6 separate regions of the Homo sapiens genome follow, and regions 2, 3, 4, 5 and 6 are each linked to region 1. Evidence: promoter capture Hi-C in 16 types of primary human blood cells and fetal thymus (Javierre and others, 2016). All regions are on one chromosome and are shown on one strand. The core of a region is centred on a gene start or on the middle of the fragment in contact, and the rest is flanking DNA. Distances in the headings are between cores, read along the strand shown. Region 1 holds the start of MMP7 (matrix metallopeptidase 7). Region 2 overlaps MMP27 (matrix metallopeptidase 27). Region 3 holds the start of MMP8 (matrix metallopeptidase 8). Region 4 overlaps MMP20-AS1 (MMP20 antisense RNA 1). Region 5 has its middle 35 kb from the start of BIRC2. Region 6 has its middle 6.0 kb from the start of BIRC3.

Region 1 (5,057 bases), core at 576-3,075:
GGCTGGAGTGCAGTGGAGTGATCTCAGCTCACTGCAACCTCTGCCTCTGAGGTTCAAGCAGTTCTCGTGCCTCAGCCTCCTGAGTAGCTAGGACTACAGGCACGCATCACCATGTTTGGCTAATTGTTGTATTTTTATTAGAAACAGGGTTTTGCCATGTTTCCCAGGCTTGTCTCAAACTCCTGACCTCAGGCAATCCACTGGCCTCAGCTTTCCAAAGTCCTAGGATTACAGGCGTGAGCCACCGCGCCTGGCCATGGATGTGTCTTTGCATTCATTTTCACCCAATTTGTGGCTTGTGTGCTCATTCACTTGAGGAAATGCCTTTTGATTTTAATTCAATGCAAATATTACCAAAAACGTGATATAATTCCATTTTTAGCTTATTCAAGTAAAGTTCATAAATATTCATTATTCTACAAATATTTATGGTGCACCTTATCACATGTCAAACTCTGACTAAGGATACCAATTACTCTAGTTAAACTGTGACCGTACAGAATCAAGACATCTCTGTAAAGAGAGCAAATTTAATTAACTGATCTGAAAATTTTACCTTTGCTGGCTCACAGTGCTCAATTACCATGTAATTGAAGTGATATGTGATTAATTAAATTTTTTAGCTCCAGCATATTTGGAGTGTTTCCCATGATGTATTAGAGTCAAAAGCCATGGTGTTCTCCCAAGTAATGTATAATATAATAAAAGAGACAGACCTATTACAAAATGAATAGGCAGTGCAGTGGGATAGAAAAAGCACTGAGCTACTATCTGTGTGAGCTGGGAGAAGTATAATAAGTTAAATTATCATCTTGGCCTCACTTTCATTTTTGGTAAGAATGGAGTCATTGGGCTAGAATCTGTAGGTAATGGATTCTTACTGCTATACGTAGAATAACCATTTTGTGTACTAAGGACCAATGCAGCCCTACCTGTAGCTGGGCAGCAGCCAGAGTCAGAGTGATTGGAAGAAAAAAATTGGATCTCCAAGTTGAAGGTCTAGCCTTGGAAGAATCTGTTACTATAAAATGAGAAGCAGAATAAGTAAGCCAGATGAAGAGTTAAACCCGTGCTTGTAGATTTTTGTTGGCTTGGTATTTTTTTGTGTTTAATTCAAGAAGAATTAGAGGCAGTGTTCCCCATTAAGAAAAGACATAAACTGATTAAAAGGAGACCCAAAGAAGGGAATTATCACTGCTCTGCTAAGGGACGTGGAAGGTGAGGGGACACAGCACAGTTGTATATAGAGTGGCCACTAATCCAGCCACACAGCAGCATTTCCATCTGCCTCCTGCCATCTTTCCCCTGTATGGAGAACCACAGGATTTTGGTGATGTTCTATTTCTTGACTTTGGTGACGGTTACAGTATTTGCTTAATTATTATTTCATTATTTACATGTTTTGTGCACTTTTCCAAACCTTTTAATTGTTAAGAATATATGGTACCATGTATTTAAGAATACATGGTACCATATAATAAGAATATATATTTAAGAATATATATTATTCTTTAAGAATATATGGTACCATAATGTCCTGAATGATACCTATGAGAGCAGTCATTTGACTTTGGCAAAAAAATGAGGTTTCTCATGGAGTCAATTTATGCAGCAGACAGAAAAAAAAATCCTTTGAAAGACAAATACATTGTGTGCTTCCTGCCAATAACGATGTAATACTTCCTCGTTTTAGTTAATGAAAAATAACACATACTTTCAAAGTTCTGTAGACTCTAAAAAGAAAGAAAACACTCAAATGAGTCACCTATTTCCACATTCGAGGCTGAGAAGCTATATAAATTTCTGCAGTCACTAGCAGAAAACACCAAATCAACCATAGGTCCAAGAACAATTGTCTCTGGACGGCAGCTATGCGACTCACCGTGCTGTGTGCTGTGTGCCTGCTGCCTGGCAGCCTGGCCCTGCCGCTGCCTCAGGAGGCGGGAGGCATGAGTGAGCTACAGTGGGAACAGGCTCAGGTATGTCACAGCCCACTTACTTAGGGTTCCATTCTTTTGCCATCTGCATTAAGAAATGTGTTTTTCAATTATTTCCCTTCCCATGTTAGCATTGCAGTGGAATTTTCTTTGGGGTGGTTCTTCGGATTATAAAAGCAATATATGTTTTCATCAAGTAGCCATTAAAAGCAGGTTTCAGAATCTGCTCAAATCGGGCTTGAGTTCCAACCCTCCACTCACTATGTAGATAGACTCAGGAAGGTCATCAAACTTCTCTAAGCTTCAGGTTTCCAATTTGGAAGTTGGAGATAAGAATGGTATCAACCAAATGAGGGTGTTGTGAAGCATTCAACACAATACCTGAAACATTGTTTAAATTAAGTTCTTATTTTTATTTATTATAACTTGAGATTCTTTTTCTATAGTATACAGAATATTGCCTCTTAAGATACAACCTGTAAATATACTGTTTGTGTATTTACAATACTGTTTGTAATGGAGATATCTGAAGTCAGAAAACATGGGTAGAAATTACAACTCTCCAACAAGTCAATGACAATAGACAAGGCATTAACATCTGACTTTGTTTTCTCATGTGTCCAGTAGAAAAAATAATATTATGTGTTTTATACCTCATGGGGTATTCTAGTAAGTAAATGAGGTGATAACAAAACCAACTAGCATGTATGTAACAATTGTAGATTATAAAGTACTTATATAGACATTGTGTCATTTAATCCTTAGTTCTATAAAAAGAGGAAACCAAAGTTAAACTGATTAGTGTACTTATTAGTGGTAGAGATAGAAATCAAGGACAAGTGCTTCTGGTTCAAAAATCATGTTCCTTGCAATATGCTTCTTAATAAGCAGTCTAATAAATATAAGCAGTCTACTAATTATTATTTGGTTAACTAATGGGATGATTACTTATAACTATTATTTGTAAATTTAGGCCTTAAGCATAAGAAAAGTCAATTTTTAATTCACATTAACTTAGACTTTTAAAAAGTTCCAGTTATAATAAGTTAGATTGAACCACATAAAGTTACTAGTATTTAACTTTTAAAATCTCCAAAACAGTAGTTTTATATGGTTCCACCTAATGAATTCTCCAGAAAGAGTACTCTGCGTTTAGTTTCTTTACTTAGAGTGAAGGTTGGCAGAAACTTAGTCTTCACTTGGAGGGATGTTAGCTAGGTTTAACAAAAAAACAGGAAAAGTCATCTCAACAAAGCAGAGAGATTTCTTCCAGAGGGTGTCTTGGTAAAGTCTGTAGCTCTAGAAGGGATTAAATGGGTTATTTGTTTTTAAATAAAGGATCAGTTATCAATTGTCATGGATGAACAATAAGTATTTGTTGTATTTAATGAGACAATTGTTGGTAACAGGAAAAAAAGACACAATATTAATAAGATTTCTTACATAAATTGCATATTCCTGGGCGGTCCTAAGACAGGTAACCATTACCATCTACTCCAAATAAACTGCAAATTAGTGAGCCAATGTTTAAATCATTTTAACAACAATATTATCAGGCATCATATAACCCTACACATGTTTCTAATGTATAGAAGTCAGAACACTTGAGTTCAAATACTGGTTCCTTCAGTTACTCACAAGGTGATCTTGTGCAATTTATTTCACTTCTCTGAGCTGTGTTTCTTCATGTATAAAATAGGGATAACAATGCCATACTTGTTTCATAGAGTGGTTATGAGGTTTACATAAAATAAATATGTAAGTGCCTGGCTCTAGTAAGTGCTTAAAAATGTTCCTGTGAGGTTGCTATTGTTGTTAGTTCATTCACTTTTGTTGTTGTTGTATTTGTGCTGCTGGATTCCTATCCTCATATTCAGATACTGAGAAACTTTAGAGAAATTCCCAGGAATCCAACCTTGCATGGAATAAACCTGGGAGTCCTACTGTATACTGCAATCTCCCAAAGTGGGTTTGACTAGAGATTTAACAGCAGAAAGAAGGGCTGGGAATGGAATGAGCAGAAAGAGGGAAAAGAGGACCTAGGAGTCAGGAAAGTCAAGTCCAGTTCTGCTACTAATTTAAGGTGTGAACCTGGGCACATAAATCATTTAGTTGCTATAAGCTTTGGTTCCTTCACCGGATTATTAAATTGAACTATTTAATAATTTCCTAATATCTTTTCCCAGAGCTAAAATTTTAAGACCCTTTAACTTTTAGCTGGAACCGCATCTCAGCTGGACTTTAGATAGGGCTGGTTGACCTCAGATCTCCCCCACAGGGTCTATGATAACACAGAGAATGTCCCAGTCGTACCCCTGAGGACAGACTGGTACATGCTTCCTGATTGCTCTTACACACTTCTAGGCTTTATAAAGTGTACAGTGTAATTCTCCCCAAAACATTTAAATGGATTTTTTAAAAATTGAGGGATTCTTTTCTTTTGCTCACGAAATGGCACGCCAGTGCTTCATTAGCAATATTAAATTTTCTCCTCACTAATGCACACTTATTTTTCTCTGTGACTATGTAATTATTCTGTCTTCAAATCATTATTTGAATTCACAGGAACCAAAGGCAAGAGATATATAGGCTTCTAAGATAAAAGAATATAATAAACAAGAACTATAGATTAATTACTCTCTTTTCAATAGGACTATCTCAAGAGATTTTATCTCTATGACTCAGAAACAAAAAATGCCAACAGTTTAGAAGCCAAACTCAAGGAGATGCAAAAATTCTTTGGCCTACCTATAACTGGAATGTTAAACTCCCGCGTCATAGAAATAATGCAGAAGCCCAGATGTGGAGTGCCAGATGTTGCAGAATACTCACTATTTCCAAATAGCCCAAAATGGACTTCCAAAGTGGTCACCTACAGGTTAGTTTTGCTCTGGCTCATTTTGGCAAAAACAATAAAGCCTGTTTCCTAGGGGTCAAACATTGTTTTCTTGTTTGCTACTAGGATCGTATCATATACTCGAGACTTACCGCATATTACAGTGGATCGATTAGTGTCAAAGGCTTTAAACATGTGGGGCAAAGAGATCCCCCTGCATTTCAGGAAAGTTGTATGGGGAACTGCTGACATCATGATTGGCTTTGCGCGAGGAGGTAAGAAAG
Region 2 (4,948 bases), core at 2,196-4,695, 170 kb before region 1:
CAGCAGACATGCTCTCATCTCTAGCCTCTGCCACCATCATATAAGCTCCCAACAAATACTGTCATCTGACTGCAGATACTTGACAGCATGAATGAAGGGTGCCCAAGAGAAAATGGGGAGACCCTGGAACACAACCAGTTTATGTCAGAGACATGTGTGTGTGAGAGAGAGAGTTGCCAAATCTCAGATGAGCCCCTCAGAGCAAAGTAGGGTGTTTCCCTCAGACATCTCAAGGAAAAGGGGGCAGGCTGACTCATTGGCAGGAAGAGGATGAGGTATGCCTTTGATCTGAGACAGAGACAGTCACCTTGACCATCACTCTACAGCCTTTCTGATAGTTCTTCTTTCATCTTACTGAGTGCTAGGACTTGAGATAAAAATGAATTTAGCAAGATAGGCAACATAAACGAGAAAAATCTTTTCCTGAGCAATTCTTGTGGTTCTCATGTAAGATTCTTAATATATGGACTGGGTGTGGTGGCTCATGCCTGTAATCCCAGCACTTTGGGAGGCTGAGGCAGACGGATCACCTGAGTTCAGGAGTTTGAGACCAGCCTGGCAAACGTGGCAAAACCCCATCTCTACTAAAAAACACAAAAATTAGCTGGGCCTGGTGGCACGCGCCTGTAGTCCCAGCTACTCAGGAGGCTGAGGCATGAGAATCACTTGAACCTGGGAGGCAGAGGTTGCAGTGAGCCGAGGTCGCGCCACTGCACTCCAGCCTGGGGGACAGAGCGAGACTCTGTCTCAAAAAAAAAAAAGTTCTTAATATATGGTACATGCACAAGACTGATTTCTACAAGCCATTCAAAAAAATGATTCTCAGTTCTTTTTAAGAATGTCTTTATAATACTTTCATATACAAGCCAACACGTACATGAGATAAATGCTGTCTTGGGATGTGATCTTAGTGAAGTCATTTAACCTCTTTCAGCCTCCTTTGTTGAAGTGTTAATACTACTGATTCATAGGGAAGATAAAGGAATTTAATTCTATAGTATATGTAAGAGTATTTCATTTAAATAAAGTGCTAATGCAACTGTAAGATAATTGCACCACACCAAAGTTACTGCAGCACATTATTGATAAGCTAGAAATGTTTTTTGTAGTTATGTGTGTATATTCATGCATGAATAAGCCAGAAATTGACATATTTTTGTTAATTTTTAAGAATAATAAACTATACTCCGGATATGGCACGAGCTGCTGTGGATGAGGCTATCCAAGAAGGTTTAGAAGTGTGGAGCAAAGTCACTCCACTAAAATTCACCAAGATTTCAAAGGGGATTGCAGACATCATGATTGCCTTTAGGACTCGAGGTAAGGTTTTCAACAGAGAGCAAAGCTATTTTTATCTCAGGAGATTTGAGGAAGCTGATCTTTTTTCCTCGCATAAATTGTATCTCAGTCCATGGTCGGTGTCCTCGCTATTTTGATGGTCCCTTGGGAGTGCTTGGCCATGCCTTTCCTCCTGGTCCGGGTCTGGGTGGTGACACTCATTTTGATGAGGATGAAAACTGGACCAAGGATGGAGCAGGTGAGTCTAATTTTCTTTATGAACAAAATCTTATTATTCTAAAGAATCCCTGAAAAGAATAGCTTTGTAACTAGCTGCTTTTTAACTGTAAAGTTCCCAATGTCCCCACAATTTTCCATATTCCAAGATGACCTTGATGGAAGTGTTCAATACACCCTCATAAAGTGGCTACTTCTACTATGATCAGAGCAGTCTTCATTATTTATACATTCATTCATACACCCATAATGTCTGAGGGGCCACTGTGTGCCCGGAACTATACAAGGTGTCCTATGGACCCCAAAGTTGTACTAGAAAAGTGTAAGCCTTCAGAGGTTCATGATCCTGTGTGGTACACAAGGCCAGCCCACATACCTGCCATATAAGGCAGAAGATGTTTTGTGTTGTACCAGTGGCAGAAGTCATCTGTTGCTTGAGGATTGAAAGAAGACTCTAGGGAGGTGGTAATTTTGAGTTAGCAATTAAAGGACAGTATATGGATTCATAGCCCATAGAGGCTCTAATTCAAAGCATGAACTTCCTCTTCTAACTCTTGCCCAGCTGCAAAGGAATCAGACCTTAATCCTTATATTTGACTTATTTCTTCAAACCAAGTAAGTTTATTTTATTTTTCTCAATGGGTCTGCCTGGCATTCAAGGTGTTTTACTACTGTTCTGACAAAAATATCAAACTGTACTATATTAACAGGTAGCAATGTAGGCCTCAAAGAAAAGAGCAAGCTCAATAGATTTTTGGGTCCCCCATTCTTTTGTTCTGTCATTGGCAATAGTTACCTTGGGTCTGGTGTCTAGCTTCCAGAGTCACAGGAAAGCACAGGTTGTAGTGGTCCTGATGGATAGTATACAAGGACACAGATCATTCCCGACCATGTATCTCCAGATAATCGGTCTAGATCAGCTTTGCACTTTCTGTGAAACTAAAAGTCTGTCACACAAAATGGTCCATGGCCACTCACTGCTCAGTCAGAACAGGTGATGCAACTGTTTTTCCAAGTGCCAGTGAAAAGGGCGAAAGTCAGTACTGGCTGAGGTTCAGGCAGCAGCAGGCAAAATCTGGGATTGGCTGCTGCCATTGCCACATGACTTAGCATCACAAGCAGACAAGAAATTGAAGGAGGTAAGATAACATTGTCACCCAAGCAAGAGAGGAAAGGAATGAACCATGTCTGTTGTGTATCTTCTGCTGAGACATGTTTCAATATTTCTTTGGTATTAGTCTGAAGACACTGCGGGTGTGTTTCACCAAACAGTTACAGGAAATATCCTAGCACTTGCCAAAATCAGAATGACTCCCCTTGCTCAGCCAGGCTTTACTTTCATAGCTAGAGGCAGAGATCAAAGATTTCACTATCCTTTTGTCTCTTAAATCCAATGCTAAGTAGCAGTTCCTCTTACCCATACTGCTTTAAGCCCTCTGCCAAGGGGGACATGTGGGGTAAGTTATTTTTTTTTAAGTCCGATGTATCTGGGTTCCACATCGGTAAGGCTCGCTTGAGCAAGGCAAGAGATAAATACAGTCCTCAACCAAGTTCTGGGTGGGCAACCAGGCAGCAGTTCCAAAAAGGATTGTCTTCTGACCACTTTATTTCAGTCCCTCAGAGTAGAAATTGTGGGCCCTCTGTGATCCAATTGTATAACTCTTAGTTCACTGACATTAAAGGGGAAAATACCTTCCTCTTCTCCAATGGAAACATAAAATATCAAGCAAACGTAATCTCCAACAAAATTGCAATTTTTAAAAAATAGGCAATTCAGCAATAACCTATATGATCACCTCTTTCATTGCAATGTGGAGGCTCTGTTTTATGGAAGGGTGGCAAAAATCTTGGTGTAACTTGCTTAAGAGCAACAGACACATCATCTGCCAATGATGCTATTAAGCTGCTTCCTCCGGGAAGAACAGGTCATCGCATGGGGATGTCAGAGGACTTTAAGCACATACAGAGATTTTCCTGAGAGTCTCTCAAAGCAAAGCCAGGTGCCAAGCCTATTGTGAGTGTGTGTGTGGCACACACGTGTGCACCAAACAACTGAACAGGCCTTACAGACTGCTACAGATGCAGTGTTGGGAAGGAGAAAAAGCAATGGTTTGTAGTTTGGCAGACACTGGTTCCTTTCAGGGCTTCCCATTGACCAGCTGAGGGACCCGGGGCAAGTCAAGTAATTTTCTTACTCTCTATTTCTTTGCCTGTAAAAGAGTAATGATGCTCTTCTTTTAGGAGGGTGAAATAAATTACCCTTACCCTAACTAGGTTAATAAAGGTGAAAACCCCTTTCAGAGCAGTTGTCCATAGTGAACACTCAGAAAGTGCTTGACATCAAAGATTCTGTTGACAATTGTTAGTATTGATGATGATAATGATAACTAGGGTGGAATTACATTCTAGGCATAAGGAAAAATATTTGAAAAGCTATGAATGTATAATGCACAAATTTGTCTATTTAGTCACATCTCCATGAGACAGAGACTTTTGTCATCTTTTACCTACAGCGTCATATGGCCAATAACAGTGTTGTCACATGAGAAATACTCTACAAATCATTGGTAAATAAAGTCACTCAATGATCATTTATTGAACATCCACTATGACTCAGGCTCTGTCATAAAAATGAAATATACCCTTGTATATAGGACACAGAAGCTGCCCTCCAGGGCTTCACTGTCTAAGGGACACATAGACAATTAAATGGCAACTAAAATCAGTAGGATCAGTACTGAGATAAAGGAAACTATGGCAATGTAATAGGTCCTCACAGAAGAAAGTCCAACCCAGACCCACAGGTCAGCAGAGGAAGCTATGTCAAGCCTGAGAACTGGAGGCTCAGCAGGAACTAAGAAGACAAAGTAGGGTGAAGAGGGTGAATAGGAGTGTTCTGAACAGAATAGCTCAATCCAACATAAGGAATAGAATTGTAGAAGACAAGGCTAAAATGGCGAATAGGATTCAGATTACAGAGGGTCTTGAAAGCCAGAATAAAGATCTGGACTTCATTTAGAAAATCTGAGCTTGAATTATTTTTCCCAACAGTCATTTTTCCAGTTCCTTGTCCAAAAGCACACACAGTGATATAGCCAGCCAGGCAAGGGGCAGCAACAAAGGCAAGAGCAGAAAAGTGTCAAAGACCATGACATAATTCTTTGCCCTTTTACGTTTGCTTCATGCAAACATCACTAGGCAAATTTCCATCAGGGAAGCTGAGGTTTTCCTTAGGCTCCATGCACTTAGTTGCAAAGCCAGGGATGGACTTTATGTATGTATGTATGTATTTATTTATTTATTTTTTGAGACCGGGTCTCACTCTGTCACCCAGGCTGGAGTGCAGTGGTGCGATCTCGGCTCACTACAACCTATGCCTATTGGACTCAAGCAATTCTCCTACCTCAGCCTCCCAAATAGCTTGGACTACAGG
Region 3 (4,818 bases), core at 1,775-4,274, 190 kb before region 1:
CGGACGCATGAACTAATGTGGCTATAATTTCACCACATTCATAATACAAAGAGAACAGCACAGTGAAGGGTTTACACAGACTTTTTCCATGTATGATCTCATCTAATACCCTTGATGCCCTATGAGGGAGATGTTAATGCACTAGTTTCACAGGTGTGGAAATTGAACCTCAGAAGAACTTAGATTTGCCAAAAGTTGCATAAGTGGGAAGTGGCAGGACTGTAATTTGAACCCAGTAAGTTTAATTTCCACCCAAATGCTCTTTACCTTTCACCACAACTGGCCCTAACAATTGTTCTGTTAACTTGATCAGGGTATATGGACATCCATTCTGATCATGAGAGTTCAGAAAGGCATGAAGCTGAGGACATTTTGCCTTGGCTTATGTGAATCAAATGAGCCACGGCTTCACTGGGTATAATTCTGTGCTTAGCGGACGCTGTTCCTTCTACTGGATCACATTCCCCATTGGCAACTCCTACTCATCATTCAAGATTCAGGCACATGTGCTCACCCCAGCTGGTTCAACTCATCCTTTATTTTATAACTAAAAAACAAATAGACTATATCTATGCAATCTGTGTCATCTCCTCGGGCCTAGAAAGCAAAACTGAACTATAAAAATACACCTGCTATGTTGCTGTAGAACCCACATCTATATCCTTATCCTTATAAGAATATCCTTATCCTTATGAGAATAGGCTGCTGCCGAAGGGGCAGGAGGGAGGCTAGTAATAGAGAGGCAGAAAGAGCCTACATTGCCTTGTGAGTTTTCTGGGCAAACTAAATTTCTTTCTTCTTCTTAACTTGCCCTGAAACTCATGTTATAATGAACAATACCTTCATTTTTAAAACTTTGTTGGCTTGTTTGTTTTTTCTAGCAAGATATCTACTCAACAGGCGAACAACTCCTGTTCGCACTGAAGTGTAAATGACTGATTTGATTTTTGGGGGAGAGAGCCTGAGAGAACTCAGTCCCAGGGACCAGAAGCAGGTGAGGCACAGACACCACGGAGGTAGACAGTGGTCAGGTGTGGAGAAAGGATTCAGAAGGCACAAGCTGGAGCCCTGAAAGCAAATGCAGTATAGCCTTCTCCACCACTGCACCAGGGCTGGGCCTGTTGGGGGAATCCAGACCCAACCGTTCAATTTTTTAACATAGCATTTACCCAAACACCAAAAACTAAGTTTACCGAAGTTTTAGATTCTCAACTAAATCACTTGCTGTTATGTTCAGAAGAAAGTACATTTATAAACCTTGTAAGCAAGCCATTGCATCAAAATAACTCAACATAGAGTTAGACCAATGTTAAGGCATTTTCGTGGAGGAAAAAGCATTTTTTCACCAAAGACCTAATGTAAAGAAAGCCACATTAAGCCATGAACTCAAGGAGGATGAACATGACCGTGATCTTTGAACAATTTGGCAGGAAGCTGTCACATTTATATTAATACAAAGAATGGGTTGCTACATCTCTGCATGTCTACATTCTACCTCTTCATGATCCGGTTCAAATTCCACCTCCCTCATGAAACCTTCCTTGATTTCACTCCCTCCACACCACTGCTGTTTCCTCCAAACACCCACAGCATTTTATCCAAACCTCTATTAATTTATCTCCAATACTCTAGCACCCATCACAGCATGTGGCATGTAGTAGATGACAGGAAATGTTTACTGAATGAATGTAGGAATATACATCATTAACATTAATCTGCTGTCCAGATATGTTCTAACCCAAGACACCTTTCTTTGGATCATTTTCAAAGTTCCTAAGTGACCTCAGGAAAGATCAGAACTCCTTATCATAGCATCTCAAATACACTCTTTACATATTAATACATGCTATGTATCATACATGTAGACACATGCATTTATACACAAGAATACCTGCCTTTACCAAATATGTATGCATATATGTAAATGAGTATTCACAAAGACTGTGTATGATAACAAACTACATGCATGTGGACTCAGAATAAGTGGGACCAGGTTACATGATTTGAAAAGCATGCCCAGGGGCCTCTGACAAACAGTCTCCTATGTAGCCATATTGTCTGGAAATCTCTCAGTGTCTTACTCCTTGAAGATGTACAACATCTCATTCTCCCTCTCCCTTGTCTTCTGCCTGTGAATATAAGCCAAAGTATCCAGCTGTTGAAGGCCTAGAGCTGCTGCTCCACTATGGCCCAGCCAGAGACTCAAGTGGGAGACTACCATGCAGAGCTTATAGTAGCTCCCAGCTCAGTCTCTCTAAACATACCCTCTGGGGTTGAATCCTGGCCCCTCCACAAATGAAACATGTGACTTAAACAGGTCATCTAAATGTCTCTGGATTTGATTTCATCTGTAAAATGGAGATAGTAATAGCATCTCCCTCCCAAGGCTATGTGAAGATGGATTGGGGTAATATGTGGAACACAGTACAAATGTCTGGGCAATCATAATTTTTTAGCAAATGTTCATTATTATCATCATCAGTATTGTTCTCTTTATCTTTTCCATGGAAAGTCTAACTTATAGACTAGGGATTTTCTAATATGTTGATACCAAACCACATCCTCCAGAAGCAGCTCTAGGCCCCATACAAAGCCTGCTTTGTAATAACACAGTCACTCATTCTCTCCACATACAATGAGGGAGGGTAAGTACAGAGATTCTCTAGTTGGGCTCCTTGGTCCCAAGATATCTACCACAAACCTCAAAATATTCCCCTGCATAAGTTAATTCAACCTCAACATCTTACATAGTCAAAAAATGTATCCACATAACTTCAGGATTAGTCCCTTGTTCCTTTTCCTCAACCAATTTTGTAAAAGGAAATAACTAAAACATCCAAAAGCAAAGAGTAGAAAGTTGGAGTTTTGAAAGACTGTTGAAAGACTCCCCCATTTGGGGGTACTAAATCACATTATAAAATTGCAAAACTGTCAGAGTGTAATTAACCTATGTTGCTTCATATTCCTGATGCAGCAATTGTTTAAGACATGGCTTTAAAGAGGACTGCAAGAGAGCTGTGAGTGACACATGATGCTGTGAACGTCAGGGTGCTCGCCAGGGAAGGGCCCTACCCAGAGGGACAGAAAGAAAGCCAGGAGGGGTAGAGTTTGAAGAGAAGATCATGTTCTCCCTGAAGACGCTTCCATTTCTGCTCTTACTCCATGTGCAGATTTCCAAGGCCTTTCCTGTATCTTCTAAAGAGAAAAATACAAAAACTGTTCAGGTAAATGAACTATCAGTTAGGTGATGTTTGATTTGCTGATTATTAGGAAATAGTGTGGGTTGTTTTCTCTTGTTAATTAAAACAGCCTGAAAGAAATTATTTGGGTGATTAGTTTGAGATTGAACATCTCCTTTTAGTGATTTGGAGGGTTCCAAGCTGGTAAGGACTAGGCCTTTTAAAAGCCGGACATGAAAACAAGCTGAATTCTTTAAAGGCTGGGAAAATACTGCTGTAGAGTTACCCCTAGTTGGGAAACTTTTGTAGAAGAAATGGTTTTATTTATAAAATGGTATCATTTTCTTTCTCATTTACCTAAGGTTTTTCCTTCCAGGATATCTGCAATCAAGTTACTATATGTCTGGTGCTTCCATACAGGCATTTTCTTTGCCGCCAAAAATTCCAGATATAGAAAATAATGTGAGGATGGTAGATTACAATGAACTAGAAATCAGTACACAGTAAAATCATATTTCCCAGCATCAGATTGTGGACTGTTTATAAACTCTTGGAAGCATTATAAAAGCAGAACCAATAGTTTTTTTCCATTGTTTCACAGTCTGAAAGTGAACCCAAATTTTTAAGAAACACAAGGGAATTCTGTCACAAATCTCTCATGCACAGTTTTCTTAGCATTATAGTTTGGAGAAAGCATTATTATTATTAAGAGGTTATCTCTTAATTGTAACCCCCGGGTTAATGTAAAGTCCATTGAGTGCTTATTCTATGCAAGGCAACTGCTACACATTTCACAAATATCTCATTTAATCCTCACAAGAACCTTATTGGAGCATTATTATTTTCATTTCAGAGACAAAAATATCTTAAATCAGATAAATAATGTGGCCAAGTGCTCACAGTTAATTCATGGCAGAGTTAAGATTTGAACCCAGGCCTGTCTGATTCCAAAGCGTGTGATCTGGTCAGTGTCACCTACTGCTGTGGTTAGAGTGTGTCCCTTGAATTTATGTGTTAAAGATTTAGTAGCCCATGTGACAGTGGGTCCTTTAAGAAGTACTTAGGTCATTAAGAAAGATTAATGACACTCTTGTGTGACTGGATTAATTTTTGCTGGAGTGGGTTCTGGCTCTTGCAGAACTGGATTAGTAATTAATAGAATGGGTATTATAAAGAGGGGCTGCCCTTTGTGTTTTGCCCCTTTTCACACATGCTTGCTCCCCTTTTGTTTCTCTGCCATGTTATGACACAGCACAAGGCCATCTCAGAAGCCAACCAGATGCAGCCACCTGATCTTGGACTTCCCAGCCTCCAGAATTGTGAGAGAAAATCAGCCCCTTTTATGTATAAGTTACCCAGCTTCAGATATTCTGTTATAGCAACAGAAAATGGACTAAGACACTGACAAGGTGCCAGGTGTTCACAGGCAGCATGAGGTCTAGTTAGGTTACATTTCACTGTGTATGAAGAAACTTTTAAGCCAAACTTAAAATAGGTAATTTTTAGGCTAAACTCTTTGGATTTTGACTAAATTTAACACTTCCAAAGAGTTACTTTGGTGAATAAAATGCTAATATCAATGATATTGCTGTTCCCCTAAAAGATATTTGAAATTATTTTGAAATTATCAGTTCTCATT
Region 4 (4,567 bases), core at 31-2,530, 140 kb before region 1:
CCCAACCTTGCTAGAGAGGTCAACAGGCAAATTCAGAAAATTCATAGAACCCCTGCAAGATACACTAGATGGTGAACAACAATTCCCAAGACACATAGTCGTCAGATTCTCCAAGGTCAACATGAAAGAAAAAATCTTAAAGGCAGCTAGAAAGAAAGGGAAAGTCAGGTACAAAGGGAACCCTGTCACACTAACAGCAGGCCTTTCAGCAGAGACCTTACGAGCCAAAATAGATTAGGGCCCTGTATTCAGCATCCTTAAGGGAAAAAAAATTCTAGGCTGGGTGTTGTAGCTTATGGCTGTAATCCCAGCACATTGGGAGGCCAATGCAGGAGGATCACTTGAGCCCAGAAATTTTGGACTAGCCTGGGCAACTAGGTCAGACCCACATCTCTACAAAAAATAAAAAATTAGCCAGGTGTGTGGCATGTACTGCAGTCCCAGCTACTCAGGATGCTGATGTGGGAGGATCACTTGAGCCCAGCATGTTGAGGCTACAGTGAGCTGAGATCACACCACTGCACTGCAGCCTGAGCAACAGAGTAAGATTATGCCTTAAAAAAAGAAAAGAAAAGAAATTCCAACCAAGAATTTCCTATCCAGCCAAACGAAGCTTCATAAGTGAAGGAGAAATAAAGTCCTTTTCAGACTGACAAATGCCAGGGGAATTCATTATCACCAGACTTGTCTTACAAGAGATCCTGAAGAGGGTGCTACGCATGGAAATGAAAGACTGAGGCCTGCCACCACAAAAACACACTTAGGTACATTGCCCACTCACACTATAAAGCAACTATTCAATCATGTCTACAGAACAACCAGCTAACACACAGTGACAGAATTAAATCCTTAGATATCGATATTGACCTTGAATGTAAAGGTCTATGAATGGTGTCAACACATTCACAATATCAATATGTGTGAATGTAAAGGTGTAAACATTTCACTTAAAAGGCATAAAGTGGCAAGTTGGATAAAGAAGCAAGACCCAAGTGCTTGCTGTCAAAAGACCAATCTCATCTGCAATGGCGCCCATAGGCTCAGAGTAAAAGGATGGAAAACGATCTATCAAGAAAATAGAAAACAAAAAAGAGCAAGGGTTGCTATACTTATTTCAGACAAAACAGACTTTAAACCAACAATGATCAGAAAGGACAAAGAAGGGCGTTATGAAATGATAAAGGGTTCAATTCAACAAGAAGACTTAGCTGTCCTAAATATATATGCACCCAACCCTGGGGCAGCCAGATTCATACAAGTTCTTACAGACCTATGAAGAGACTTAGATAACCACACGATAACAGCAGGAGACTTCAACACCCCACTGACAGTGTTAGACAGCTCATCAAGGCAGAAAACTAACAAAGATATTTGGGACCTAAACTTGACACTTGACCAAATGGACCCTAACAGGCAGCTATACAGCACTCCAACTGACAATAGAACATACATTCTTCTCATCTGCACATGGCATGTAATCTAAGATATAGAACACTCCACCCAACAACAACAGAATATACATTATTCTCATCTGCACATGGCGTGTACTCTAAGATTGACAACATGCTCAGCCATAAAGCAATTCTCAAACAAATTCAGAACAACCAAAATCATACTAACCGTGTTCTCAGACCACAGTGCAATAAAAATAGAAATCAATACTAAGAAGATCACTCAAAACCATACAATCACAGGGAAATTAAACAACCTGCTCCTGAATGACTTTTGGGTAAACAATGAAACTAAGGCAGAAATCAATAAATTCTTTAAACTATTGAGAACAAAGATACAACATACCAGAATGTCTAGGACACAGCCAAGAAGTGTTAAGAGGAAAGTTTATAGCACTAAATGCCCATCAAGAAGTTAGAAAGCTATCAAATGAACAACCTAACATCACACCTAAAAAAACTAGAAAAAGAAAAGAAAAGCAACCCCAAAGCTTGCAGAAAAAAAAGAAATAACCCAAATCGAGCTGAAGTGGATGAAATTGAGATATGAAAATCCATGCAAAAGATCATTGAAACCAAAAGTTGGTTTTTTGAAAGAATAAAAGGAATTGATAGACCAGTAGCTAGATTAATAAAAAGAGAGAGAGAGAGAAGGCCCAAATAAACACAATGAGAAATGACAAAGGTGACATTACCACTGACCCCACAGAAATACAAAAAACCCTCAGGAACTATTATGAACATCACTACGCACACACACTAGAAAACCTAGAAGAAATGGATAAATTTCTAAAAACATGCAACCTGCCAAGACTGAACCGGGAAAAAGTTGTAATCCTGAATAGACCAATAAAAAATTCTGAAATTGAATTAGTAATAAAAAACCTACAAACCAGAAAAAGTCCTAAAGCACATGAATTCATAGCTAAATTCGACCAGATGTACAAAGAAGAGCTGGTACCAATCCAACTAAAAATATTTCAAAAAATTGAAGAGGTGACTCCTCCCTAACTCATGCTATGAGGCCAATATCATTCTGATACCAAAACCTGGCAGAGACACAATGAAAAAGAAAACTTCAGATCAAAATCCCTGATGAACATAGATGCAAAAATCTTCAACAAAATACTAGTAAACTGAATCCAAAATACTAATAAACTGAAAGCTAATTCACCACAATCAAGTAGGGCTTTATTCTTGTGATGGAAGATTGGTTCAACACGCAAAACCAAAATTCGTCCTCTTTCATGTAAAAACCCTTAACAGACTAGGCATTGAAGGAACATACCTCAAAATAATAAGAGCCATCTATGACAAACCCACAGTCAACATCGTACTGAACACGTGCAAAAGTTGGAAGCATTCCCCTTGAGAACCAGAACAAGACAAGGATGTTCACTGTCACCACTCCTATACAACATAGCCAGAGCAATCAGGAAAGAGAAGGAAATAAAAGGTATCCAAATAGAAAGAGAGAAAATCAAACTATCTCTCTGCACAGACAATGTGGATTATGCCTAGAAAACTCCATAGTCTCTACCTAAAGGCTCCTAGAACTAATAAACAACTTCAGCAAAGTTTAAGCATACAAATCAATGTACAAAAGTCAATAACATTTCTACACACCAATAATGTTCCAAACTGACAACCAAACCAAGAATGCAATCCCATTCATGATATCCACAAAGAGAATAAAATAACTAAAAATACAGCTAAGCAGAGAGGTAAACAAACTATACAACAAGAATTGCAAACACTGCTGACAAAAATCACAGGTGACACAAATGGAAAAATATTCCATGCTCATGGATAGGAAGAATCAATATTGTTAAAATGGCCATAATATCCAAAGCAATTTACAGATTCAATGCTATTCCTATGAAACTACCAATACACCTAAAAAAACAGAAATTGACAAGTAGGACCTAATTAAACTGAAGAGTTTCTGCACAGAAAAAGAAAGTATCAACAATAAACAGACAACCTACAAAATGGGAGAAAATACTCACAAAGTATGCATCTGACAACAGTCCCTTTATCCAGAATCTACAACGAACTTAAATCAACAAGCAAAAAACAAACAACCCCACTAAAAAGTGGGCAAAGGATATCAACTGACACCTTTCAAGAGAAGACATAATCTTAGCCAGCAAGCATATGAAACAATGCTCAACATCACTAAGCATTACAGAAATGCAAATCAAAACCACAATGGATACTAGCTCACACCAGTCAGAACGGCTATTATTAAAAAGTAAAAAAATAACAGATGCTAGTGAGGTCATCTAGAATAGGGAATGCTTATACGCTACTGATGGAATGTAAATTAGTTCAGCCCTGTGAAGAGCTATAGAAAGTTTAAACATTTCTCAAAGAACTTAAAACAGAACTACCATTTTACCTAGCAATCCCATTACTGCATATATACCCAAAGGAACATAAATCATTCAACCAAAAAGACATGTATGTTCATCACAGTGATATTCACAATAATAAAGATATGGAATCAACTAGATGCTCATCAGTGATGGACTGGATAAATAAAATGTGGTACATATATATCATGGAATACTATGCAACCATTAAAAAACCAAAATGATGTCATTTGCAGAAACATGAATGCAGCTGGAGATCATTATATTAAGTGAATAAATGGAGGAACAGAAAATCAAATACCACATGTTCTAACTTATAAGTGGGAGCTAAACACTGAGTACACATGGACACAAAAATAGGAACAACATGCATTGTGGCCTACTTCAGGGGAGAGGTTAAGAGAAGAGTGAGTGTCACAAAACTACCTATTGAGTACTATGCTCACTATCTAGAAGACAAAATTATCTGTACACCAAACTTCAGAGACATGCAATGTACCCATATAACAAAGCTGTACATGTACCCCTGAACCTAAAATGAAAGTTGAAAAAAGAGATACTTGTACATGTATGTTTATCACAGCACTATTCACAATAGCAAAAATATGGAATCAACTTAAGTGTCCATCAACAGAGAATTGGATAAAGGAAATATGGATAAAGGAATAAAATCATGTCTTTTGCAAAAGCCCAGATGGAACTGGATGACATTATCCTAAGTAAAATAACTCAGAAACAGAA
Region 5 (4,542 bases), core at 1,356-3,855, 150 kb after region 1:
TTTTACACAGAACTTTTACCACGCTTCAAACCTGTTCGTTTTCTATTTTTCTTCTATTCCTTGTTCTCTGCTGCTAGTGCTGCTGCTTCAAAAAGTTGAGAGGAAGGCATGTATCAAAAGGTCTCTCAGGACATGTTGTTCTATCCTGTTTCTCTGCTGTGGGATCAGGAATGGAATTTCCAGGAACCTCCAGTTCTCTGCACCCAAGGGTATATAAAAGGAAAAAAATCAGCTGATAAGGAACACTTCCTAACTCATTCTATGAGACCAGTATTACCCTGATACCAAATCTAGACAAACATACCACAAAAAACTAGAAACCAATATCCGTTACAAATACAGATGCAAAAATCTTCAACAAAATACTAATGGTGCTTTATGAATGTGGCTTCAAGCCTAAACAACTTGCCTTCCCAAACCCCTTTTATATGGAAATCCAATTCTGCCACTACATTGTTCTTTGTGAATAATACCTAAAATCATATAACTCCTCTGCTTAAAAACCTACAGCTCTTCTTTACCTAAAGAAAGAAGTCTAGATAGCAAAACCCATAATTTGTAGTCCTCTTAAGCGTGGTCCCCATCCTATCTTCCCAACCTTGTTTCCCATTATTCACCTTCATCGACCCTACAACTACTTTTTGCAAAAATGATTCAGGCATTTTTGTCTTTCTTCGTTTTTCCCTCTTCCTGGAAAATACTTCCCTATAACTCCATTCTCCAACTTTGCATATTTTAACCCTATTTAATCAATACCCAATTGAGATGCTATTTCATCTGAAATTCTTTTAAAAAAAGTCCCCATAGCACTTTATCTGAACCTCTCTTATGGTACTTATTTCCTACTTTGGATTAAAATATCTCCAAGCCTCAGTAAAACAAGAGTAGTATGTTTTAATTCATAGGACAACTCCCTGTTCTCTGACAATGCTTGCTCTTTTGCACCTCTGTGCCTTTACTTTGCCAAACCTATCACTAATCTCTAGACCTGATCCTGTTTTTTCACCTGTGTGTGTAAAAGATTTTCCAATATCCTGAATTGTGCTATACTACGAACTACTCTAACAACCAAAATAGCCTCAAAAATGGATACTTTAAGTAATGAATTCTGTCTGAAACAGAGGTTGTACATGTACTTGTCAGAAATACTATAAGGAGATTTTATATTATCAAATAGGACAGAGAAAATATCTTAGTGTCCATGTAGCTTTGAAGCTGAAATTATGACTTCTATATTTACAGAAAAATAATTCGGTATTTGCTTGCTGTCATGGAAAAATAAAGATATTCAAGACCTACTACTGAGTGAAAAAGCAACCTTAAGAACATTTCTATAACCATATGTATGTAGGCATGTGTGTATATACACACCCCCACACAGTGAATACATACCAAATTTAACAGTGATTACTACCAGGGAGGGGACTGAAAGTACTAGTGGGGAGAAATTAAAGGGGATTCAAACATTTTACCTTATATACTGATTGTTTGAAACTTTTACAACAAATATCTATTCTAAAGTATTTACCTGCCTTAAAACAAAACAAAACAAAAAAAAAAAAACTGATTGGAACACAATGCTATGACTCAGTCTATCCAGGTCTGATATGAAACAGGATGCTTGCTACTTGGGAATCAGACCTATGACACCGTCTTTAGCAGAGCCCACTAATGAAGAACACAGAAGTCATGTGCAGCTCTACATTAGACCCTACTACAGCCCTGTGAGGAATAAGCAGGACAGAAATTCACCCTCACAGAAAAGCTGAGGACCAGAAACAGTTGTAAAGGGCTTGCCGAAGACCTCATTAAACGGCAGAATTAGACTTAGAGGCAAAGTCTTTGGATTTGAAATTCAGGGCTCTTTACCTATTACCTTTCATTATCAGAGCTGCTAAGGCTTAAAAGCTCCAAGGACTCGATGGTTAAAGCCTATCTGGACACCATACCAGAAAGATAACAGGACCTAACACAATAATCAATTATTACCATAGTCTTTCCATTTCTACTAAGCTATCTAAATCTTCTTCCCCTGAATAATCACGCATATCCCAATGGACCAAGTAGGCAAAAGAATCTATTATGGACTTGTGGGGCTCAATAAATAACATCCCTTTTAGGCAAGTTTAGAACCAATAAAAGGAGTCATCACGTGACAATGAAAACATCATGTTTATCATTGATAAAAGATCTGAAGGATGATGCTTTCGTGTAGATTTCCTAATATGAATGCTAGAAGGAAACAAACTTTACCAGTCACTGGCCCCTGTGACGCCAACATCACAGAAGGACAGAGTATGCTCTCTTCAGACAAGCTGCCTCCCAAAGAGAAAGAAGAAAGAAGGGATTGAGCTACTGGGCATATCCATGCTTCTCTCCCAAAAGCACCAAGACGATAAGCGCAAGGGAAAAAAGAGTTCCTTCTATGTTGAAGAAAACCTAACAGATAAGACTAAGTATTCTCCCTTAATACAATGCTTCTTAGATTCATTTTTTGTTTTTTTAATCAGTCTAATGGTTTTACCACACACCAGTGGTTCTTAAATGCTGGTCCACTGACCACCATTGTGTCTGCACCAATCACTGCAAATGTCAGCACAGTGAAAATAGCAAATAGCATCTTACTTCTGTTTTGTTGTTGCCTCCCACGTTCAAACAATTCTCCTGCTTCAGCCTCCGGAGTAGCTGGGATTACAGGCGCCCGCCACCACGCCCAGCTAATTTTTGTATTTTTAGTAGAGATGGGGTTTCACCACATTGGCCAGGCTGGTCTTGAACTCCTGACCTCAAGTGATCAGCCTGCCTCGACCTCTCGAAGTGTTGGGATTACAGGCGTGAGCCACTGTGTCCCGCCAGCATCTCAGTTCTACTTTTAATTTTTTCAGAGCACCTAAAAGGGTTGAAAGAACTGCTACTATCTACTGATAGGTTTCTTTTACATATAGTAGGGGATACTCATTGAAATGTTACACCTCTAGAAAAAATTTAGGTGTGTCTTTAAAGCTGACCATTCGTTGTCCTTTGACTTATGGAATGGCAGTCAACAAGCAATGAGTCTCTTAGGTTGCTAGTGTTGAGAAGAGCAAACTATTCAGCTCTGGTACTTGAGCTCTTTTAAGAAAAGATGTGGGAAACAAAGGAGAAGCCTAACTAATAATCATACAATTCCTCCCATTTAGGTTAAGACAGGGAAGAAAGAGATCCAAACACAAGTTAAGAATGTAGTAAACTAAAGTATGGGCTGGATGTGGTGGCTCACACCTGTAATCCCAGCACTTTGGGAGGCAGAGGTGGGTGGATCACCTGAGGTCAGGGGTTTGAGACCAGTCTGGCCAACATGGTGAAACCCCGTCTCTACTAAAAATATTAGCCAGGCGTGGTGACGGGTGCCTGTAATCCCAGCTACTCAGGAGGCTGAGGCAGGAGAATCACTTGTACCCAGGAGGCGGAGGTTGCAGTGAGGTGAGATTGTATCATTGCACTCCAGCCTGGGCAACAAGAATGAGACTCCATCTCAAAAACAAACAAACAAAAACTGAAGTATGGTTTAGCAAGAGATTTAAAAAAAAAAATGTAAATGTTCTGGAGCCACTTCCACCTGGACTGTATACAATTCACACTCTACCACTTGTTATCTCTAGCAAATTACATGGTTTCACTGGGCCTCAATTTCCACATTTGTATTATAAAAAAGAGATAACATGTTTCCTACAGTTTTAAGGATTATGGAAGGCAATAAAAAACCTAACAAAGCATCTGACATTCATCTGTCTGCTCAACATAATGAGCACCTGCTAGGACACTGATTATCATCATTAAGAGGGCAAAAAAGATAAGAGACTAAAACCCTAATCTCAAATCCAGGTCCATTTGAGAAGTTTGCAAGCAGATAAAGTATAAATTACACTATGTTTAGTTATATTTTTTGCATTATTTTTACTGAATGTGAAAAACACAGACGTCTTTAAACTGACTAGCTGAATAAAGCCAAATAAGGTAACTCTTTTATAAATAGATAAAAATCATAAGTTGCTACAGTTATACTAGATGGCAGCCCATGTTAACTTTTAAAAATGTAAGTATAGCTTATTAGGACAGTTTGTTAAAAAAGCACAAGCTAAGGAGCCAGGCAGATCTGTGTTCAAATCTTACTTTGCAAAATTGCTGAAAGGATCAGAGCCGATGTGCTTTAAAGTATCTATTAACGGCAGTTTGTATTACTTGGCTAAGGCTGCCACAACAAAGTACCAATGACTGGGTGGCTTAAACAACAGAAATTTATTTTCTTACAGTTCTGGAAGCTAGAAGTCCAAGATCAAGGTGTTGGCAGGTTTGGATTCTTCTGAGGCCTCTTCCTCGGGTGTCTTCACATAGTCACTCCTCTGTGCATCTGTATCCTAATCCCCTTTTCTTAGAGAACACCAATCATGTTGATTAGCAGTCAACTATATCATCTCATTTTACCTTATTTGCCTCTTTTAACAACCCTATTTCCAAATACAGGTACATTCTGAGGTACTGGCAATTAGGACTTCAACATAC
Region 6 (4,790 bases), core at 912-3,411, 220 kb after region 1:
GCTTTCTCTATTCTAAACCTGCATCCACATCTTTAATGGTGTAACCTACCTTGCATTTTCTTTCTAACTCTTTGTATATCTCACATACTTTATTAAAAAAACTCCTCTTTTCCTTTCAACATCCAGCTGTTATCCTTGTGCAGGGGGCATGCTAATCTTCTTGGTAGGGTTCCAATTTTAGTATATGTGCTGCCAAAGCAAGCACAGCCTAAATATATTTTCTCTCCAAATACTCTTATTTTCTTCCAAGCCAGTGAATTCCAAGCTCCAAATACTCTTTTCACGACAGAAATACACAAGGAAACCTTTGAGGAAAGTGAAAGCTAGACACAAACTGTATAGCCATTACTATCTTCAGTTTTCTAGGTTTGTTTGTGGTTTTTTTGTTGTTGTTTTCTCATTTTTATTTTTTTGAGACAGAGCCTTGTTCTCAGGCTGAAATGTCACCCAGGCTGAAATGCGGTGGCACAATCTCAGCTCACTATAACCTCAACCTACTGGGCTCAATCAATCCTCCCATCTCAGCCTCCTGAGTAGTTCTGACTACAGTCACGGGCTACCATGCTTGGCTAATTTTTGTATTTTTTATAGAGACAGAGCCTTGCGATGTTGCCCTGGCTGGCCTCTTGGGCTCAAGTCATCTATCTGCCTTGACCTCCCAAAGTGCTGGGATTATAGACATGAGCCACCACACTTGGCCTCTTGGTTTTCCAGTTTTTTTCTACTGTCAGTGTATGAGCAAGGTATGAATGACAGAGTTTTTCATCCCATTCCTGGCTCAGAACTCTGACAATTCCTGAGAGCGGTATGCTCTCAATATCCTATTATCAAATAATCAATTTAAAAGTATTTTTCCCTTGGGGGAATTATTATTAAAAATATTTTTTCTCTGGAGGGAATTTCGCATAATGTTGTAACAACTTTAGTTGTAGCCTAATGCTTTTTCACTGTAAGTTTTTAGATTTTTATGTATAAAGAAACCCAGGAATCTAGAACTGAAAGTGAAAGTGAAATCTTACAGGGAACATACTGTTCTAATTCCAAAGCAAATCTGAGAGTCCTTGTAAATGTTGACAATTTCCTGGTCTGTTGATAACTTTCTAACATCTTGCAAATAAAATACAATTACACCAGCCTTGAATAAGTGCTAACGAAGATCAAATTTACAAAGAAACCTCCTCTAATGTAAAGCTTTAGTCAAGATAATGAAGTTTACCCCTCATAAATGGTGGCTTACTTTATTTTATACTGATAGTACTCTAATAAAATATAATTTATATCATGTAAAGTACACAGATATTAAAAGCGTATAGCTTTATGATTTTGACAAATGAATGTACTCAGTTAACTATCAACCAGATCAAGATCAAGAACACCTTCCATTACCTCAGAAAATTCTTTCATGCTCTTTTGCAGTCAGTACCAAGCTATAATGCCCCCACCACCCCTCCCCCTCCCACAATCACTATTATGATTTATCACCCTAGATCTCATTTGTTTGTCCTTGAACTTCATACAAATGAAATCATATGATGTGTACTCATACTGGCTTCCTTCACTCAACATATTTCTTAGTTTCATCAATATTGTAACATGTATCAGTAATTTGTTCTTTTTATTGCATAGTAGTATTCCACTGTATAAATATACCATAGTTTCTTTTATTTTGAGACTGAGTTTTGCTCTTGTTGGCTAGGCTGAAGTGCAGTGGCGAGATCTCAGCTCACTGCAACTTCCACCTCCCGGGTTCAAGCGATTCTCCTGCCTCAGCCTCTTGAGTTGCTGGGATTACAGGTGTGCACCACCACGCCCAGCTAATTTTTTGTATTTTTAATAGAGATGGGGTTTCATCATGTTGGCCAGGCTAGTCTTGAACTCCTGACCCCAGGTGATCCACCTGCCTTGGCCTCCCAAAGTGCAGGGATTACAGGCATGAGCCACCGCGCCTGGCCTACCATAGTTTCTTTTTCTGTTTTCCTGCTAATGTACATTTGTGTTGTTGCCTGGTTCAATCCCTTGTGAAAAGAACTTATAAACTTTTTTTTTTTGAGACAGAGTCTCACTTTTTTGCCCAAGGTAGAGTGCAGTGGTGCCATCTCAGCTCACTGCAACCTCCACCTCCCAGGTTCAAGTGATTCTCGTGCCTCAGCCTCCTCGGTAGCTGGGACTACAGGCTCGAGTCACCATGCCCAGCTAATTTTTTGTACTTTTAGTAGAGATGGGGTTTCACCATGTTGCCCAGGCTGGTCTTAAAGTCCTGAGCTCAGGTGACCTGCCCGCCTTGGCCTCCAAAAGTGCTAGGATTACAGGCATGAGCTACCATGCCCAGCCCAGAACCTATAAACATTTTAGATTTTTTTTTCTTTAATAATATAGATGAGGTCTCACTATGTTGTCCAGGCTGGTCTCAAACTTCTGAGCTCAAGCTCAAGTGATCCGCCCAACTCAGCCTCCCAAAGTACTAGGATTACAGGTGTGCCCAGCCATTGTGCCCAGCCCATTTTAGTTTTTCTTTTGGTGAACCTATGAATTCTTCCTGTTGGCTAAATACCTGGATACGGAATTGCCATTGGGTAGGTGTATGTTTTATTTTTATTAGAAATTGCCGAAAGTTTTACAAAGTCTTTGCACCATTTTACACTCTCACCAGCAGTGTATAAGAGTTCTAGTTGCTACACATCTTTCCCAAGGCTTAGTATTGTGAGCCTTTTTAAGTTTAGCTCTTCTTTTGGGTATGTGGTGGCATCCCATTATGCTTTTTTCTATCCCTGTTGATTAATGATGTTGACTATATTTCCATATGCTTCTCGACACTTTAGATATCATATTTTGTGAGGTGCCTGTTCAAATCTTCCTCCAATTTTTAAATTGAATTGATTGACTTCAGGGAATTCCTTATATACCCTGGGTTGAGTCCTGTCATTGACATGTGCACTGTGAACAGTTTCTCCCCATTTGTAGCTTGTCTTTACGCTTCATTAATAGTTTCTTTTGATAAGTAGAATATTTTAATTCCATGAAGTCCAACTTATAATATTTTTAAGTTCAGTGTGTTTTATATCATGTTTAAGAACGCTTTGCCTATCCCAAGATTATGAAGATTTTCTTCTATATTTTCTTTTAGAAGCTTTGTGATATTCACTTTTCTATTTAGGACTATTGAAATGTAAAAAGGGCTGGGCGCGGTGGTTCATGCCCGTAATCCCAGCACTTTGGGAGCCCAAGGCAGGTGGATCACGAGGTCAGGAGTTGGAGACCAGCCTGGCCAATATGGTGAAACCCCGTCTCTACTAAAAATACAAAAATTAGCCAGACGTGGTGGCGTGCGCCTGTAGTCCCAGCTACTCGGGAGGCTGAGGCAGAAGAATCGCTTGAACCCGGGAGGTGGAGGTTGCAGTGAGCTGAGATCGCCCCACTACACCCCAGCCTGGGTGACAGAGCGAGATTCCGTCTCAAAAATAAATAAATACATAAATAAAATAAATGGAAAAAGTTCCCTTGTCCCCCTCGCAGGGCTTGCGACAGACGGAATGGCTCACTTCTTCAGTGCCCTGCTGCTCAAACCTCTAGGGGGCGCATGCAGACGGGCAGGCTGTGGGGCTCTGACACCACTGCAGTGTCTAGGGGTGAATGTTCAAGCTGAAGGCCCAGTGGGCGTGTGTTACAGGGTGCTCTTTTAGTTTAGCCATCCATAGGCGGCTTACGTTAGCTCAATTAGACCCCTGGCTTATCGCAAAGACAGAGGGCTTTCTGTATCTCAGGGTTCTTGCTTTGGTGTTCCAGAAGAATAGGATTACACGTGGGTTTGGAGAATGAGTGCAAGGGTTTATTGACTGGAAATAGCTCTCAGCAGATGGGGGAGCCAGAAGAAAAATGGTTTTCCTGTGGAGTCGGGCAGCTCGGCGGACCTGGGCTCTCCTTTGACTGTCCCAGACAAACTTCGTGTTGTTCAGCGGTCAATGGCCTGCCTGCCTGCTGGTGTGCTCCTACGCCGTTGAGTTCCCCTTGATGTCCAGCCACCTGTGTGCCTGCCTGCTAGGGTCTTGGGCAAACATTGGAAAACAACACAAGATCATTCAAGTCAGTGTCTTCTACTTCTTTCCGCAATTCCGTAAACTGGCACCGATCCATAGCATTTGCATGCATATGTTGCGCAACTTTCATAACTGTATCCACTACGCTTTCCATGAGCCTGATTCAGAACACTGAGCACAAATGTTTTCAGTATGTATTTATGATGAAAGAAAGAAAGGGACACATCAATCTTTTGTTTTAAAATTTCCTAAATTCATATCTAGCTGAAACTCTTCTTTGACAATATTAAAGGTTCAAATATTTCTATACCATGAGTTTGACCTTTTAGTTTTACATGTTGGCAACATTTCATAAATTTGGAAGTTCTTTGAGATGAAACATATCCAAAATATTAATTGGGCATGACTTATCTAAAGGTAAAGTACTTGCAATTTTTCAAAATTTTAATCAATTATCTTTGATATTCTTAAAAGGGGCTTGTAGGCTATGGGCAACTGTTTGGTGGCATAATTTAAAATATTTTACTTTTTGTGAAATATCATTTTTACTGTTTTCCTAATAATTTTCTAACTAAATTTCCATAACTACAATAATAATGTATTTTACCATGTCACCATGGGTTTTTTTTGTATGCCAGAATCCAAGCCATTTAATCACCACCTAAAGTTACAAGCCCAGATCCTGTTAAGCATAATTTAAAAAAAAATTGGGGGGCTGGCCATGGTGGCTCATGCCTGTAATCCCAGCACTTTGGG

The links. The method cuts DNA at HindIII sites, captures the fragments that hold promoters and counts their contacts. A CHiCAGO score of 5 or more calls a contact.
Region 2: a fragment that was not itself captured here is called in contact with the fragment with the promoter of MMP7 in region 1 in 2 of 17 cell types (M0 macrophages and M2 macrophages); the score reaches 7.7 in M0 macrophages.
Region 3: the fragment with the promoter of MMP8 here is called in contact with the fragment with the promoter of MMP7 in region 1 in 3 of 17 cell types (M0 macrophages, M1 macrophages and M2 macrophages); the score reaches 10.3 in M0 macrophages.
Region 4: a fragment that was not itself captured here is called in contact with the fragment with the promoter of MMP7 in region 1 in 1 of 17 cell types (M0 macrophages); the score reaches 5.1 in M0 macrophages.
Region 5: a contact is called between a fragment that was not itself captured here and the fragment with the promoter of MMP7 in region 1, in 3 of 17 cell types (M2 macrophages, non-activated CD4 T cells and naive B cells). The highest score is 5.4, in M2 macrophages.
Region 6: a contact is called between a fragment that was not itself captured here and the fragment with the promoter of MMP7 in region 1, in 6 of 17 cell types (M1 macrophages, M0 macrophages, M2 macrophages and 3 more). The highest score is 11.6, in M1 macrophages.

What each region holds. Positions count from the first base shown.
Region 1 is chr11:102,527,515-102,532,571 of GRCh38, reverse strand. MMP7 (matrix metallopeptidase 7) reads left to right here and starts at 1,825. Exons shown (of 6, transcript NM_002423.5): 1 at 1,825-1,979; 2 at 4,589-4,815; 3 at 4,900-5,048. The coding sequence starts at 1,872. The HindIII fragment of the contact is 6,591 bases long and covers 1-2,240 here.
Region 2 is chr11:102,699,342-102,704,289 of GRCh38, reverse strand. It overlaps MMP27 (matrix metallopeptidase 27), which reads left to right. Exons shown (of 10, transcript NM_022122.3): 3 at 1,172-1,320; 4 at 1,409-1,537. Among named protein-coding and RNA genes, the nearest start is that of MMP27, 4.0 kb to the left of the region's middle. The HindIII fragment of the contact is 8,436 bases long and covers 1-4,948 here.
Region 3 is chr11:102,723,160-102,727,977 of GRCh38, reverse strand. It overlaps MMP8 (matrix metallopeptidase 8), which reads left to right and starts at 3,024. Exons shown (of 10, transcript NM_002424.3): 1 at 3,024-3,224. The coding sequence starts at 3,123. RefSeq lists an enhancer at 2,618-3,817. The HindIII fragment of the contact is 5,644 bases long and covers 1-4,818 here.
Region 4 is chr11:102,668,962-102,673,528 of GRCh38, reverse strand. The region is part of intron 1 of MMP20-AS1 (MMP20 antisense RNA 1); the gene reads right to left. Among named protein-coding and RNA genes, the nearest start is that of MMP20-AS1, 30 kb to the right of the region's middle. The HindIII fragment of the contact is 1,329 bases long and covers 616-1,944 here.
Region 5 is chr11:102,379,662-102,384,203 of GRCh38, reverse strand. No RefSeq gene overlaps it. Among named protein-coding and RNA genes, the nearest start is that of BIRC2, 35 kb to the right of the region's middle. The HindIII fragment of the contact is 6,214 bases long and covers 1-4,542 here.
Region 6 is chr11:102,309,137-102,313,926 of GRCh38, reverse strand. It overlaps the pseudogene RNU6-952P. Among named protein-coding and RNA genes, the nearest start is that of BIRC3, 6.0 kb to the left of the region's middle. RefSeq lists an enhancer at 3,415-3,709. The HindIII fragment of the contact is 1,936 bases long and covers 1,194-3,129 here.